6 separate regions of the Homo sapiens genome follow, and all the other regions are linked to region 1. Evidence: promoter capture Hi-C in 16 types of primary human blood cells and fetal thymus (Javierre and others, 2016). All regions are on one chromosome and are shown on one strand. Each heading gives the region's core, a stretch centred on a gene start or on the middle of the fragment in contact. The rest is flanking DNA. Distances are from core to core; before and after follow the strand shown.

Evidence for each region. Contacts are between HindIII fragments. The CHiCAGO score rates a contact against its expected background, and 5 or more counts as called.
Region 2: a contact is called between a fragment that was not itself captured here and the fragment with the promoter of KRT71 in region 1, in 1 of 17 cell types (naive CD4 T cells). The highest score is 5.8, in naive CD4 T cells.
Region 3: a fragment that was not itself captured here is called in contact with the fragment with the promoter of KRT71 in region 1 in 6 of 17 cell types (naive CD4 T cells, endothelial precursors, naive CD8 T cells and 3 more); the score reaches 8.0 in naive CD4 T cells.
Region 4: a contact is called between a fragment that was not itself captured here and the fragment with the promoter of KRT71 in region 1, in 3 of 17 cell types (M0 macrophages, M1 macrophages and M2 macrophages). The highest score is 6.6, in M0 macrophages.
Region 5: a fragment that was not itself captured here is called in contact with the fragment with the promoter of KRT71 in region 1 in 4 of 17 cell types (M2 macrophages, M1 macrophages, M0 macrophages and 1 more); the score reaches 8.2 in M2 macrophages.
Region 6: a fragment that was not itself captured here is called in contact with the fragment with the promoter of KRT71 in region 1 in 1 of 17 cell types (total CD8 T cells); the score reaches 5.1 in total CD8 T cells.

What each region holds. Positions count from the first base shown.
Region 1 is chr12:52,551,780-52,554,479 of GRCh38, reverse strand. It overlaps KRT71 (keratin 71), which reads left to right and starts at 1,335. Exons shown (of 9, transcript NM_033448.3): 1 at 1,335-1,843. The coding sequence starts at 1,403. The HindIII fragment of the contact is 3,012 bases long and covers 1,150-2,700 here.
Region 2 is chr12:52,791,865-52,794,564 of GRCh38, reverse strand. KRT3 (keratin 3) reads left to right here. Exons shown (of 9, transcript NM_057088.3): 2 at 234-454; 3 at 1,342-1,402; 4 at 1,759-1,854; 5 at 2,162-2,326. Among named protein-coding and RNA genes, the nearest start is that of KRT3, 2.9 kb to the left of the region's middle. RefSeq lists an enhancer at 2,660-2,700. The HindIII fragment of the contact is 4,397 bases long and covers 1-2,700 here.
Region 3 is chr12:52,774,016-52,776,715 of GRCh38, reverse strand. It overlaps KRT76 (keratin 76), which reads left to right. Exons shown (of 9, transcript NM_015848.4): 1 at 1-24; 2 at 1,114-1,328. Among named protein-coding and RNA genes, the nearest start is that of KRT76, 2.0 kb to the left of the region's middle. The HindIII fragment of the contact is 1,487 bases long and covers 682-2,168 here.
Region 4 is chr12:52,387,954-52,390,653 of GRCh38, reverse strand. No RefSeq gene overlaps it. Among named protein-coding and RNA genes, the nearest start is that of KRT84, 3.7 kb to the right of the region's middle. The HindIII fragment of the contact is 1,665 bases long and covers 449-2,113 here.
Region 5 is chr12:52,371,036-52,373,735 of GRCh38, reverse strand. No RefSeq gene overlaps it. Among named protein-coding and RNA genes, the nearest start is that of KRT85, 4.9 kb to the right of the region's middle. RefSeq lists a cis regulatory region at 957 and an enhancer at 873-1,042. The HindIII fragment of the contact is 4,826 bases long and covers 1-2,700 here.
Region 6 is chr12:52,755,301-52,758,000 of GRCh38, reverse strand. No RefSeq gene overlaps it. Among named protein-coding and RNA genes, the nearest start is that of KRT76, 21 kb to the left of the region's middle. The HindIII fragment of the contact is 1,288 bases long and covers 701-1,988 here.

The DNA.
Region 1 (2,700 bases), core at 86-2,585:
AGTCCAGGCTCTTCCCCTAAACAATATGAGAGAGAGCCCCAAACCAGCCTGTCTCCAGATTTTCTTCCCTCCTGTGCCCCACCCAGCAAAGAGCTGCTGTTCACCCATGGGGCTCCAGCAGGGATCTCTGGGCAAGGGTGATCTTCAGGGACAGAGCTGCCTTGGGTTGAATAGGGCCACAGTGGCAATGGCGATCATGGGAGTAGCTGGGGCCCAACACAGGAGCCAGTGGCTAGGAAGCAGGGGCTGCAGCCAGAGTCTCTGGGGCTGGCATCAAAGGACTGTTTGGAGTAGAATGACATCGTGCTTACTGGGTCGCCCCCATTGGGTCTTTCTGGTCTGAGCCTGCCTGGAGGCTTGCACTCCTGGGGAGGGCTCAGCCAGCCTTGTTCTTGGCTCACTTGGGCCTGGACAGAGGCAATAGGAGTTAAGTTTCATGTTGATAACAGCTTCTTTATTTGAACTCTAAACAGATGATTACTGTCCTCAAGTTGTTCCTAGTCTTATTAGCAGATACACATTGGAGGAGAGACAGAAATGAGGAAGTGGACCACCCAGGAATCTCCATAACCCTCCAGGCCATGGGCCAGCCTCTGTCTTTGTCTTCTCTGTACCTCCTTCCAGTCAAGTCCCTGAATTTCTCAGCCACCTGCCCCAACTCCATCCTCCTTTTCTCGTCCTCATTTTCTCCAGTGTTTGAAGCCTCCAGCCTGCTTTATTATGGGTGTTTGAGGGGGGAGAAGTGAGGATAGTGCCCGTGGTTGGCTCTGGCCTGGGCTGCTTCTGTCCCATGCTAGCGAGAGGGTCACTCCACCTCCTAATACCCCATGAGTGAGAGCAGCTGCCCTCTATGGGTTATGTTTCCAGGAGGCCTGGGGAGAGGTAATGCCTGATCAGTCCCTTTCCAGGAAGGAGGAGAACAGAAGTTGGAGGCCCCAGTACTCTACCCAGTGTCCTGAACTATCCAGGAAAGTCCATCCTGTCTTCACCTGCTGCATCCCCAGGAGGAAGCCAACAACCCAGAGAAGATTAATCAGGATAGGGATGGTGCAGTGCCAGTGACATCCCCCTGGAGAGGCCAGGGCCTGGGGCAAATTACCCTATAACAGCAGGTTAATTAGATAAGACCCAAATTACATGAGCAAAGCTTGCAAGCCCAGCAATTTGAAGGTTTCATGTTGTTTCAGAGGTGGAGAGGGCTTGATCTCTAGCTCAGCATAGAGAAAATGACTTCTTGCTCCCAGGCAAGCCAAACCCACGAATTAAGCTCTTGACTGCCCATCCACAAGCCCCAGTGCCAAGCACATATAAAGGCACCTGCCAGTCCTCACTACAACCAGCAGAACCTTTTGGGATTTTGCCTTCCTCCCTCCTGCATCTGAGCTTTGTCTCCACCAGCAACATGAGCCGCCAATTCACCTGCAAGTCGGGAGCTGCCGCCAAGGGGGGCTTCAGTGGCTGCTCAGCTGTGCTCTCAGGGGGCAGCTCATCCTCCTTCCGGGCAGGGAGCAAAGGGCTCAGTGGGGGCTTTGGCAGCCGGAGCCTCTACAGCCTGGGGGGTGTCCGGAGCCTCAATGTGGCCAGTGGCAGCGGGAAGAGTGGAGGCTATGGATTTGGCCGGGGCCGGGCCAGTGGCTTTGCTGGAAGCATGTTTGGCAGTGTGGCCCTGGGGCCTGTGTGCCCAACTGTATGCCCACCTGGAGGCATCCACCAGGTTACCGTCAATGAGAGCCTCCTGGCCCCCCTCAACGTGGAGCTGGACCCCGAGATCCAGAAAGTGCGTGCCCAGGAGCGAGAGCAGATCAAGGCTCTGAACAACAAGTTCGCCTCCTTCATCGACAAGGTGGGTCTTCTAGGGCCTGGGGAACTTGTGAACAGCCCTCCTCTTCTCTTCTTGGAACATACGATTTTGTTACAGCAGGAGAGATTGAGGTTAGATGTGAGGAAGACTTTACTGTGGACAAGGTAGGTACATCCCATCAACAGGGTGACCTGTGTAAGGTTCTCTGTGTTGTCTTTCCAGAGAGAAAACAGAGGCAGGTCAATTTCTACTGGCAGAGGCTTCTCAGGGCTCCCAGCAAGAGATGTGGTCCTTCCTCTTGAGGGCTAGCTTGGTGCCATTGCTAGGCCTGCAGGCCGTGTGCAGAAAAGGCCTGTGAGAGCCAGTCTCGCCCAGAGTAAGCAGGGAAGCTGTCCTCCTCCCCTGGCATGCTGCCCTGCCCACTGGTCACTTGCCCAGCGGATCAGGAGCAGCAGGAAGGGGCCGCTTCAGGCCCTCTGATTGGGCATTTGCTCCAGTCAGTTGAAGACTTTCTTGAGAGGCAGAAGAGGGCACTGGGGAAGGGGACTCCACGGTGCTCTTGTGCTCACTGCTGGCCACAGCTGAGTGGCTCTGGGAAGGTGATCTGCCTGTCTGTGTTGCCATCTCCTCATCTCTAAAATGGAGATAATAACTTCTGTCTTGGGGTTGTTGTCAGGCTTATAAAAGAAAATGCAGGTGAAGATCTTGTCACAAGCCTGACGCACACTAAATACTCCAAAAATGATTGTGATTGTGACTCTCATTTCTTATCTCTGGAATGTGGGGGAGGGAAGCTCAGGGGAGGAATCAAAGGTGTCTAGAGACCTGAAGAGATGACACAGTCCAGATAGGCCCCTGACTTCTGGCAGAGAAGAAATGATTATCCCTATCGTATGAGT
Region 2 (2,700 bases), core at 128-2,627, 240 kb before region 1:
GAGCTACTTCCCCTTCCTTTGTAACTTTCCAAACCACGCTGCAAGTGTAGTGTCCTGACTCATCACCCATCTGATCATAATCTCTCTGACTACAGTAGGAGCCTATCTTTGCATCTTTTCTAGGCCTTTGTGCTGGGGGCCCAGGAGATAGACACCTAGTCCTACCTGAGTGAAGGCCCCTCTGCTCCTCTGCTACAAGTGTTGCCTGATGTTGCTTCCTGCAACCATTGCAGGTGCGGTTCCTGGAGCAACAGAACAAAGTCCTGGAGACCAAGTGGAACCTGCTCCAGCAGCAGGGCACAAGTTCCATCTCAGGCACAAACAACCTTGAGCCTCTTTTTGAGAATCACATCAACTACCTGCGGAGCTACCTGGACAACATCCTCGGGGAGAGAGGGCGCCTGGACTCTGAGCTGAAGAACATGGAGGACCTGGTGGAAGACTTCAAGAAGAAGTGAGTGACAGGGCAGGAGTGGGAAGATGCCATGGCCCACCCTGTCTCAGAGTCTTGGCCCCTTCTACATGCCCCCTGACTGCTGGGCAGTGGCGTCTCCTGGCCCATTTCCCTCTCCTTACCTTCATGAAGGACAGCTTGGTTCATTCAGTTCCCCCTCACCTTCCTTCTCCAAGCATGGTGCTTTGCAAATAAAATTGTGGCAAGAGGATGAGTTTAGGCTGGGCTTGGTGGCTCATGCCTGTAATCCCAGCACTTTGGGAGGCCGAGGTGGACAGATCATTTGAGGTCAGGAGTTCAAGACCAGCCTGGCCAACATGGCGAAATATCATCTCTACTAAAAATACAAAAATTAGCTGGGTGTGGTGGCACACACCTGTAATCCAAGATAGTCGGGTGGCTGAGGAAACAGAATTTCTTGAACCCTGGAAATGGAGGTTGCAGTGAGTCAAGATTGTACCACTGCACTCCAGCCTCGGTGACAGAGCGAGACTATGTCTAAAAAAAAAACAAAAACAAAAAACGGATGAGTTTAGAGTTGGGGAAGCATTTCCTCATGAGCCAGGTTGGGGAAGATCCTGGTTCTGGCATGTGAAAGATTCTGGGACAACTCATGGTATGGTGATCAACCATCCAGAGGTTTGCCTGGGACTGAGGGGTTTCCTGGGATGCAGAAATTTTAGTGCTAAAACCAGACAGTTTGCCTGGGCAAATTGACTTGGTTGGTCCCCCAACTAACAGGGAGATAGTAAAGAGGATGTGCTCATCTGAGAGGGGCAGGATAGGGATGGAGGGAGGGAAGAGATGAACTTTCAGAGTTCCAGGGAACAATGGTGTTTACGATGACCTCAAAACCAAACTCAGCTGTTTCTTTTTTATTCACACAGATATGAGGATGAAATCAATAAACGTACAGCTGCTGAGAATGAATTTGTGACTCTGAAGAAGGTAAGGGCTGTGTGTGAGGTTTCTGAGGCTTGCAGCTGCAGGTTTCTGGCTGGGTTGGGGGAATCTCCTCACTCCACTGCCACAGAGCTGCCAAGTTCAGGCCTTTGGAGCAATAAACAGAAGTCAGGTGCACCTTAGTCTGGAAGATCCCTAAAAGAGTTAGTTCATCAGTCTTTAGTTTTTTAGTAGGATTAAACTTAGACCATCCTAATGAGATACAAATTGCCCGTTCAAGTGGAGACTGGTCTTAGACAAGGACCATCACTGCACCAGTCCCCTCTGCTCTTTCTTGCTGCAGTTGTGGTTTGCTGTTTGTTCATTGGGAGAATAAGGCCTTTATCTTCCTCTTTTCTCAGGATGTGGACAGTGCCTATATGAACAAGGTGGAGCTTCAGGCCAAAGTGGATGCCTTGATAGATGAGATCGACTTCTTAAGGACCCTCTACGACGCTGTAAGGATGTTACCTACTAAGAAGGGACAGAGGGAGAGTGAGGTGTTTCCAGATTTGAGGCTGGTGCATTTTGGTATATAGGCCCCAGAAGACATCTGGAATGAGCCTGGAGATGAGGACCCTTGGAAGGGATTCCACAGGATAAGCTGCAGACATGGGGTTCTCTGAGTGGCTGCGGACAGGGTGTGGCTGATACACATGTGGAGCAAGGAATCAGTGAATGAGACTGTTGATCAAGAGTCTTTCAGGGCCCTGTGTGCTTGTTACAGGGACCCCAAAAGTGAACAAGCTCCCTCTGTGTTGACAGGAGCTATCTCAGATGCAGAGCCACATCAGTGACACATCTGTGGTGCTGTCCATGGACAATAATCGCTCCCTGGACCTGGACAGCATCATTGCTGAAGTTCGTGCACAGTATGAGGATATCGCTCAGAGAAGCAAGGCCGAAGCTGAGGCCCTGTACCAGACCAAGGTGGGTGCTAGTCACCTCTTACGGGATCCACTGGAGGTTTCAGAGAGGCCATGGCCTATTGGACAGCTGGGTAGTGAGTTCCCAGTGGTCACTGGGTGAATGCCTTTTGGTTTTACCCTCTGAAGTCATCCTTCTAATGGTGGTTCAGTTGCAGAAAGTCTTGCCCCTGGGGGAGATGGTTGCCTGCTATGTGGGACTGACTCCAACTTGCTCAGGAACTACAGGGTAGGAAAATCTTCTACCACAACAACCCAGATGTTCTCTTTCCTGCTGCCTTGGGGGTTTCCCTGCTGAAACACAATGCAGTATCATTTTAGCAAATGCCTTACTGAGCTTCTGAAGGTTTGGTGGGTGATGTTGGAGGTGTAGAAACA
Region 3 (2,700 bases), core at 176-2,675, 220 kb before region 1:
AAGTTTGCCTCCTTCATCGACAAGGTGAGGGCAAGGCCAAGAGGTGCTGTGGAGGGTTTGGGGTGCCCAGGGGTCGGTGTAGAAAGATGCCATGGGGACTTGTGAGACACAGGGCAGGGGCGCTTGGCTCTTGTCCTGGTGCTGTCTTGGTCCCTACAGGACAGTGATCATGCCCCTTTCACTTTTTGGGCCTTCTTTTTCCAGCTGTGAAATGGGGGGAAGAATTCCTGGTCCTGGTTTCCTGCTAAGAATGAGATGAGGGTAAATGAAGTGGGGGTCCAAACATGCTCTTAGCTTTTTGAAGAATGAGCCATTTTAGTCATGAAATTATTGCAGTTACTTTAATTTCTCCTGAAAAGCAATTGCTTGATAATCCAAAGTAGCTGGTAATCAAAACCTTGTGTTAGCACAGATCTTGAGGCTGCATCTAAATGAGGTGCATTGGCAGCTGCCTTACCTTCCAGATGATGCTGTGCTTCAGCCAATAATTAAACTGAGCTGTCCATGCTGGGGCAGAGGAGGGTGTTCTGGGTCTGTGTGGGACTGAGCCCAGGATCTGAAGTGAATTCTAGTTCAGCTGCAAGCTGAATAACTGAAAGGAGGTCTTCCTATGTGAAACTTCTAAAGAAATGTTAGACCTCATTGACTGTATTCACTGCCTTTATGGAGCTGAAAAAAGCTTACATCTAAAAAACAATGACAAACTTTATTTGTGCTTACCTCCTTCAGTGGTATTCTGAAGGATCCCTATAGACCCAGGACAGTCCTGGGTTTGATTCTTAGCTTTGTCACTCAGTAGACTTGTCACTTTGGGAAACTTAAACTCTTTGAGTCTCAGTTTCCTTATCTACAAAATGGGGATCACAGCAACTCCTTTATAGGTGGTTGTGAGGATTAAATGTGACGGAAATACATGAAAATAACAGGTAAGGCATAATCACTCAACAAATTCTAGCTCTCCCTTTGCTAAATCTTCATCCTTCCCAAATTAAAAAACAGGGGAAATTGTAGATTGAAGAACTGGGTTCCTTCTCCACAGTTCTACATTTGGGATGGGCAGCCCCACATGCCCAACTCAAGGGGCTGACTCCTTTTCTCCCCTCTTTCATGCAGGTGCGGTTCCTGGAACAGCAGAACAAGGTCCTGGAGACCAAGTGGGAACTGCTCCAGCAGCAGACCACAGGCTCAGGGCCCAGCAGCCTGGAGCCTTGTTTTGAATCCTACATCAGCTTCCTATGCAAGCAGCTAGATTCACTTCTAGGGGAGAGGGGGAACCTGGAGGGAGAGCTGAAAAGCATGCAGGACCTGGTGGAAGACTTCAAAAAGAAGTGAGGGCTCCTCCTGGGAAGTTTCCCCTTCTGGGGAATTAGCAGGGAGGTGTGGTCCTAATTTGGGATTTCAACTGTTCCCAACTGTGCCTTCAGTCAATACTCTGGGATGGATTTATTGAGTGAAACATGACAAAGCAGAAGGGGGTGAAAGGGTGGGGACTGAGACTCCCATGTGGCTATGACACAGATTTCAGGCTCCAGATGGGCCCCCTCCTATTCCAGCCCAGAGGGACAAAAGAGTCCTCCCAGAGTTTAGAATCCTTTAGGATGGGGAGTCCGCCACACTTGACTGGACACAGGAATCACCTTGGATGCTTGTCAACAATGCGTATTCCTGTATTCCAGTCTTAGGTATTCTGAATCATAGGTGTGGACAGGCCCCAGGAGTGTGAGTGTTCCCCTAGCTCCTGGGGATTCTAGGCAGAGGTCCAGGGCTGCACTTGGTAAAGGCCTTTATCAGTGTGTCCCGTCCAATCTCCTGTTCTGCAGCTTTGGTTTGCCTCCTCCTCCACGTTCCAAGTTGCAGTCCATATCCGCTGAGGTCTGCAAGGAGCAAACTGGGCCTCTCAAGGTGGGAGGGAGCTCCCGACTTCCCCAGGGATCAGAACCCACAGGGACGGGCACACCTGCTCTGCAGAGGCCCTATTCCAATTCAACCACACAAACGTGGTGGGCACCCACTCTGTGGCAGGCTCTGTGCTGGGCTCTGGGAATTCAGTGGCAACTCAGATTCATATTCCCAAAAGAGATCCCAGAGACCTCTTTTCTCCTAGAGGAAAAAAAGAGGTCCTGCCTAGAGACCTCTTTTCTCCTAGAATCAGTCCAATTCCTCAAGCTTTATGAAATACAAACTCTTGGTAGTAGATTTTAGTCCTTAACAGGCAGGAATCCCACAACTTTGATGCATTCAGAAGGTATGAATTCTTTCTTAACTGAAATTCCTATAAGAAGTAACTGTAATGAAGGAAAACAGAAACTGAGGAAATAGGCAGAAATGCCCAATGAGAGCACACATTTCACTGGGTTCCATATGCACACATTGTGCTTTGCAAAGTCAATCAAAGAGCCTAGGCAAGTGGTCAGGCTCCTTGAAGTTTGCCCTCTCACTGACTGCCCATACCTCTGCCCATCACTGCATTTAGAGGGAAGAGGGCCAGGCAGTGCCCTGAGCTCTGAGAGGTCTCTGGACAGGACCAGCTACGTGATTTTCAGGCCTCAGTGCAAAATGATAATGCAGGAACCTAGTTACAAAATTATTAAGAATTTCAATCATGCCTGTAATCCCAGTACTTTGGGAGGCTGAGGAGGGAGAATCACTTGAGCCCAACAGTTCGAGACCAGCCTGGGCAACAAAGTGAGACCTTGTCTC
Region 4 (2,700 bases), core at 32-2,531, 160 kb after region 1:
AATCCTGGCAGGGGCTGGAATTGGGAAAATGGCTCTAGAAATGGCACCCTGAGCAGAGGAGGGGGTGCTTGGAGTCGCTGAACCTGGAAGAGGCTGTCCTAGCCATCCTAGCACCTAAGTGCAATGCCAGGCGCACATTAGCAACCAATAAAGGTGTGTTGAAGCAAACTGAACTAGATGTCTACCAGGAGCAACATTTTCACTCTGGACAGGTGACAACCATGTGGGCCATGTGAGACATCGCATTAAACCTGAAAAAACCATCCTTCCTGGAAGAAGTGAGAGGGGTGGGTAGAAAACAAGAAGGGGGTGCTTTATCTTCCGTGGGGAGGCGTGTTCATTCATCTGAGAGGGGAGAGAGGAGGAGGTACTGGCAAGGGTGGACCTAGCCTCTCACACACACCCCCTGCCCCCCGACCCCCACCCCTGCTGGGGGGACTCTGAAGCTTCCTTTCCCAGCAGGAGCAGGTCTTAGCATGAAAACTTCTCCAGCCAGTGCCTCTCTCCAGCACAAACTCGTCCCCAGGCTAAACAGAAGCCCTCTGAAGCCTTCTCAGAATCTGGGCTTCCCCTGTCATCCCCTTTCCCACACACACACCCAGCCACAGTGCAAACAGCGTTCCCAGAACCTGCATGGCCAACCAGGATGTCCCCCTCCCTCAGGCAGCCCTTCCCCTCCCTTTCCTCTGCTCAGCGTTTCTGCCTCCTCCCTGCTCCACAGATAGGATCCTGATGACCCAGCAGCCAGGCATGGTAATGCAGCCACGGAGCCTGGGCTCAGCCCGCAAGTCTCTGGAGTTACACTCAGGCTGACTGACAACAGCAAGAAGAAACTGTTGCAGCAGCAAAACCTCCTACCCAAAGTTGCCAGGGCAACTCCGCCCCCTCTCCCCACCTGCCACCCCCTAAAAAATGACTGAGGGTTGTGTTATGCATCGTCTGGCGAAATAATGCCTCCAAACTGCAAACTGCTGATGGTGACAGTTCATCACAGAGCAGGGACTATGCTTGACTGGTCCCAATTACAATTACCCCCACCCCACCCAGCCTGATCAGGGTTGAGGGAAGCTGGGACATGGGACAGGAATGGCTAATGGGGTATGAATGCATCTGCCATGGGAGCAGGAAGGAGGCGGGTGTGGATGGGAACAGGGATGACTGTGTAGAAGTGAAGGGAGGATTGTGCAAAACAGAGAAGAAAAGGGAGGAAGGGAGGGAGGAAAGAGCCAGGGAAAGGAATGGAGTACAGTAGCAGCTGCCAGGCACTGCACAGTGCACATCCCAGGCACTTCCTAGTCAATCCTCATCATACTATGAAACAGGGAATATTCCATATTAACATGAGGAAACTGAGGCTTAGAGGTTAAACAATTTCCCCAAGGTCATTGGTATACCATAGGGGTGGAAGGGACTACTACCATTATTTAGAATGGCCAATGCATGCTGAAAATTGTTAATAAGCTGATTGGTTGGTTTTAAAGTTCTCTGCAGAAAAGTTCCCCTAGTGCCTGCACCTGCAGCAGAACCTGGCCACCACCCTGCCCTTGGTATAGCACTATCCAAGATCATACTGCTAGTCGGTGACAAATCTGAGTTTCACCCAGGTCCATCTGACTCTAAAATTGATATCATCTTCTGGGTCCCCACCAGGGTTCTCTAGGCAGGCCATCCCTCCCACTCCCTTCCCCTTTCACCTCCACCAGACAGCCTCTGGTCCCCCTGCCCCAATCTCCTGGAACCCCTCGCCTGGCCTCAGAGGAGTGGGATGCCCTTTCGTTCAAGCAGCCTGGCTCAAACCCCAAGAGGCTGGAACTGGGGGACAAACTGGATTGGTTCTCCTTTGAGCTCTTGAGTTTCTGCCCCACCGTCCCCTCCTGGGCCATTCCTGTCCATTTGGGAACTTGGAGTCTCTTTTTCCCGAAATATCTGCAAAATCAAATGCCCAAATTCCTGTTCTTCATACTTCCTATTTCTTTCTCCTCCTGCTTTTAATCTTCACAGCCTCTTCCATTCACTCAACGAAACTATACAGAATGCCCACCATGTGCCCCACTCTGAGTCCTGGGGACCCCTCAGAGAGCAAAATGCACAGCAGTGTCTGCCTCCTAAAGCTTTGCTCCAGCCAGTACAAGTCAACGACAACAACAGGCAAATCCACCCAAGAAGAGGACCTCAGATGGCTGTAAATGCTAAGGCGACAAGGAAGCGGGGCAGGTGTACAGGGAGGACAGGGAGTTTCCAATAGAAGCTAAGAGGATGACATATGAACAAAGCCCTGGAAGAGTTGAGGGACCCAGCCATACAGCTATTTGAGGAAAAAGGTTCCCAGCAGAGAAAACAGCAAGGGGGTAAGCATTCGAGGCAGGAGTCATTCTGCCTGTTTGATGGACAGCCAGGATGCTCAAGTGGCTGCAACAGAGTGGGCAGCGGGACAGGTGGAGGGGATGAGGTCAGGGAAGAGGGAGGCACACTGCATAGTGTCTTACAGGGCATTGACTCTGAATGGGTGGGAAACCATGGGAGGAGTTTCGGCATGGAAATGGCATGATCTGACATGTTTTTAAAGGATCACTCTGTGCTGCTAAGAAAAGCCTGAAGGGGCAAGGGAGGAAGCTGGGAGACCAGCTGGGAGTGTAGTTCAGAAGATCCTGTGGGAAGAGATGGGCCTGGGCCAGCATGGGAGCAGCAGGATGGTGAGAA
Region 5 (2,700 bases), core at 144-2,643, 180 kb after region 1:
AAATATCTACTAGAGCTAATAAGTGACTTTAGGAAGGTTGCAGGATGCAAGGTCAATATACAGAAATCAATTGTATTTCTATACACCAGCAATGGAAATTAAAAAATTGTTGAAATATCATTTCCAATAGTACCATTTAATTCCAAAGGATAAATACTTAGGCATAAACCTTTAAAAAGTATATGAGGATCTGTATGCTGAAAACTACAAAACATTAATGAAAGAAATCAAAGAAAACTTAAATAAATAGAAAGATATACTGTGTTAATGAGCTGGAAGACTCAATATTATTAATATGTCAGTTATCTCCCAGAGATGACATAGGGGTCAAACCCATGGACAAGGGCACAGGCAGACCTGAGTTCAATCCCAGGTCTTCCACTTACTGGCTGCGTGACCAAAGGTAATGAGAGGTAACAATAATACCTAACATATGTTGAACTGAGTAGTGTTCCAAATAATTCTCACAGGTTAACTCATTTTATTCTTTCAATATCCTTAGGTGGTAGGTGCTTTTATTATTTCCCATTTGACAGATGACAAAACTGAGGCCCAGAGAGGTTAAATAAGTGGTGAGGCACAGGAGCTCTGACTCCTGAGCCCATGCTCACCACCACTGTGCTGTTCTGCCTGTCACGTAATCTCAATACGCCTCTTGCCTCATTTGTAAAATGGAAAAATATGTCGTACCTCAAAGAGATGTGGGGATGACATGCAATGGTAATCCAAGGTGCTTGGCACTCAACCTGGCCCACAGTGGGTACACAATTGCTTCAGTAGTGGTGGTGGTGGTGGTGTTTCTCTTTTGTCAATGAACAATAGCTTTGTCAGCAGCTCAGCCACTCCAGTACCAACCACAGGTGGATGCAGAAGCGTCAGGGACTGTCTCCAGCTTCCAAAGATCTGGAAACCAGAGCCAGCTGCAGGCAGATCCCTGGCCTTCTCTGCTTCTGCCACGACTGAACTGCTGCCAGGCCAGCTGTGGGAATTTGCTGCCCTCTTCTGGCCACCAACTTCGGACAAGAAGGCGTAGGAGATTTTCAAAGCAGGCTACCAGCAGGATTGGCTTGTGCAATATAGCAAGGAGAGGAGGGAGCTTAGAGTCTTGTAAAACCATTTTGTTTTTCTCCAGATTTGTAATTAGGACACAAACATAAAAACAATAAGTAACAGCTTTTAAAAATAAATCTATCTCCTTTCTCACCAGCCCAACCCAGCCGTTTTCACCGTTCTGTGTTCTTTGTCTCCATGGGTATTCAGAAAACCACAGCCTTGAAGCAGGAAAGAGCCAGGGAGGGGTCTTAGTCCCATGGCTTTCAAACTGCATGTGTTCCTCGGGGCTCAAGGGCCAAGGCTTCCCACAAGCTGTCATTTTCTGCCAAACCTCAAATATCTAAAGTATCCAAGATAGCCATTCATTTATACATTCATCAGTCAACAATATTTACTGAGCACTTACTATATTCCCAGCACTTTTCTAGGTGAACAAAATGAACAAAACAGACAAAATCTCTGCTTCCATGGAGTTTACTTTGGGGTGATGGGAAAAACAGACAATAATCCACAAATAGAATAAATAAGTAAATTCTGGACTGTGTTAAGTGTGATGGAAAAATAAATAAATAAGAGCAAGATAAGCTGGATGGAGAGTGCCCTGGGGTGGAGGGCAGGTTGCCATTTTTTTAAAGGGTCAGAGAGATGGTATAGGGGCAAAGCCCTGCAGGAGGCAATGGGCAAGCCACTTGGATGACAGGGGAGCATTTGGGTGGAAGAGACAGCAGGGCACAGGCCCTGAGTCAGGAGTGCACCCTGTCCTGGTGCTCCAGTGGGAGGTCACTGTGGTTGCTGAACACAGGGAGACCGGTGACAAAGGCCACAACACAGACAGGCAGTGCAGGGCCTTGTTGGCCATTGTTAGGACTCCAAGCAAAATGGGGAATTGGGTGTTTGAGCAGGGTAGAGACATGATCCAACTTATGTTTTACGGGGCTTACTCTCCTCGGCTGAGAATGGAGTTGGAGGGCCAGGGGCAAACAGGGAGACCAGCATGTCAATCTTATCTATTCTATAACTACATAAGTAAATACATGGCTTTATATAGCTGTTTTCCTCCTAGGATTTGGGGAGATGGCTCAACTGCCAAAAAGAAAAGAAAGAAAACATTTCAAAACCATTCATGCAGTACATTCCTGAAATCAGAGGCTCTGTAACGACTGAGCCACTGCTCTGATCCCGAGTAACCATGGAAAACAGCAAAGCACCAGGGAATGCTGCCAATAGGAAGGCACGTGGACAGAGTTCGGGAGGAGAATGGAGTTTCTTGGAGTTGCCGTGGAGCAGGCCAGGGAGCAGCTGTGTCAGCTGGGCACGGAACCCCGCCATGACACACTGGAGAACGTAGAGTTGCTCTGACCCTCCTTTCTCTCACTTAGGGTCCCTGAATCATGCCCAAGTCTTGTGAAAGTCAAAGAGAGGGAAAGAGGGCTAAGAAGAGCCTCCAAGAGCTGCGTCTCAGCAGCGGCAGTGGCGTAGCCTTAGATGCATAATAAAAGTGTGGCCAGCAGAGGCAAAGGGCGGTACCCAGTTTGAATCAGCTGTGCAGGCCTTGTCCATGGGGAGCCCATCAGGACTGACTGAGGGGGACCAGCCCACTAGGAGGGATGGGAAGACAACCCACAAGAGCCCAGGCAGGCACAAACA
Region 6 (2,700 bases), core at 95-2,594, 200 kb before region 1:
CTGTAAGGGTGGGAAAGACTTGGGTATGAGAGGAGAGGTTGAGAGGAGGGGCAGGAGAGGGAGGAGGGTAACTGATGGAGCAAAGAATTAGAGGAGATGGGTGGGGATACACCTTGAAGCCTTGTACAAGAAAAAGGAAAATCAGGTGGGTGTGGAGGCAGGCAGGAGTCAAGGCACAGAAGGGATGCTGAGGGGATCACTCCTGATGGCTTCAGTGTTCTTGGTGAAGTAGGAAGCTAGGCTTGGGTGGTCTCCCTTAGCAGAGCTCAGTGCCTGCAGCAGGTGGGGGAAGGAAGTTTTAGTCATGGCCTTGAGAAGGGACTTTGTTAGGCTGATGGTTGAAAGATAGGGGAATAGGGGAATTGATGAGGCTGGTGAGAAGGTCGTCCAGGTGGTGAAGTCCAGTCTTCCTTCTATGAGGAATGAGATAGCATCAATTTTGTTCACCACTTTCCACCACCTGGTCAATGCCTAGCATATAGTAGATGCTCAGAAAGTATTTGTTGAATGAATGAATAATGCTTAATGTGAGAAGAGCAGGAAAAGAAACTAGGAGAGAGCTAACAGCCTTGGAAAAAATGAAGGGGTTAAGACAATGAGATTATTTACATGAGTGAAGAGCAGATGTAATGAGAGTTAATTGGGAGAGCCCTGGGAGATGGAAAGTTATGGCCAGAAAGTGGGGCTTGGGAATTAAGCTTCTAGGAGGCAGCAGTTCTTGGTGATGGTCCAGGCTGCAGGCATGGAGTGTGTGGTTGAGGTGGAGTGAAGGAGAAGGTGACCGGAATTGAGAAGACCCAGGGATTCCATGGCCAGGCTGCTGAGTGGGTCATCCTCTCAGAGGTGGAACTTAGCAAGGACGATGGTGGTGGTGGGGAGGAGATGCATGGTATTCCAGAACCCAACAGGGGGAAGAAACCGTGGAGGTAATTTGTTCAACTTCCTACCAAATGATAGCAAGAAGATTGGCTTGGATGGAATGACAGAGTTTTAACATTAAAGTGGTGGAATCAGGATGGAGGAAAGAAAAAGGGAAAGGGGAGGGCATTTAAGGTCAAAAGAGGAGATCGTTCTGCTAGAAGAGGCAGGCTAGTCAACTTTTGGGTAGGAGAGTGACATTTTGAAAATGGTACTTGCATAAGATCATGTTGGCAGGGGTGGATGGGAGCAAAGAGAGACTAGAGACTCTGGGTGATCTTTGGGGAGCAGTGAGCCACATCCAAACTCATGACCCACTGCAGTTTGCCAGGCTGTCAGAAACAGCATAAATTCTTCCCACTCAATGGGTCAGGCTGGTACATATCCCTGCATTTGTGGATATACCACGCTCTGCTTTGTAGCCTTCAGCAGCCTTTGATGATCTTGCCTCAAATGAAGCGTAATATTTGCTGCACAGATGGGTTTCTGCAAGTCTCTTTACGCCCGCAACATGGGATACTCTTTATCATCTCCATCAGCTCACCTCAAGATACCTTCTCTGGGAAGTCTTCCTTGACTAACCGCCCTCCACAGTTCCCATTTCAATCCCCTCCTGCAACTGCAATAGTCACGTGGCTGTTTCTGGTCCCATCCGTGTCTGCCTCATGCTCTGGGTGACAGTGTCAGGCTGTTTGCTTTCTGGGTATTAACAGAACACATTTCCTCCTTCCTGTAAACTTCTTGTTATATGATCAAGAAGCTATTCAATAAATGGAACAGAACTGGGTTTGCTTAAACTTTAGCTCCCATGTTGTCTTGTGTGTCTTGCAATGAGTGCCCTTCCCAAAGTCTTTGAGAGCTGACTTGCCATCCCATGACCTACTCCTGTGGTGCTGTCTACAGAGGCAAGGACAACATTAGATTCCTGTTGATGTGGTGGTGCCAAAGAATGTGTCTGTTCTAAGCCTGGTATAAGCACCTACCAGAGGTGGAAAGAACTGCAGCCTCCAGGGCAACCTGAGCATGATCTTTATTTTTATTTTAATTTTAATAAACTGTAACTAGAAGCTTCTCGGTCATCAAGTTGTTTATCCTCGTGCACAGGGTCAGTTGGCAGTGAACCTACCCCTGAAACCCAGTCAAAACTTCTCTTCCCTCCAGAGGCAATGGCATGGCAGCTTGGAGTGCCCAGCTCTCTGGCCTCTCTGCAGGGAAGGCCTTCTAGCACCCCCGTTACTGTAGCGTAAATTTTTTCTTGGCCTGTGCTCACCAGAAACCACTGGATTCAGATCCTCTCTCCTTATAGCCAGGATGACTGTTGCTGTTACCCCCGGTTAGAATTCTTAATAAAATTGCCTCTCTTTTGTTTATTTTGAGGATAATCTTCAGCCTCTACCCAGGCCCCTGAGGGTGTCAGGCTGCCAAGAGAAGCATCCAAGCTGGTATGTTAGGGGCTTCTAGGGGCTGAGAAAATGTGAGGGTGTGAGGTGAGATTCAAGACCTTCCAATCAGCTGGGTCTCTTTTCCCTCCAGTTGGATGATTTGGCTGCATTTCCCATGTGCTTAACATGGGCTTGGTACACAGGTGGGCATGTTTAGCAGAGAGGGCAGCCACTCCTACAAGTGGCAGCTGATTTAGTCAGTCTGTATCTCAAAACCCCATCTTAAGTTCATGCATACAGGCTCCTGTCCTGGGTTTGGGGCAGGAGATGATTGGGTAGAAGGCTGTCTGGAGGGCCAAGACTTTTCTTCTCCAGCATGACAGTGGAGGCGGGACACACA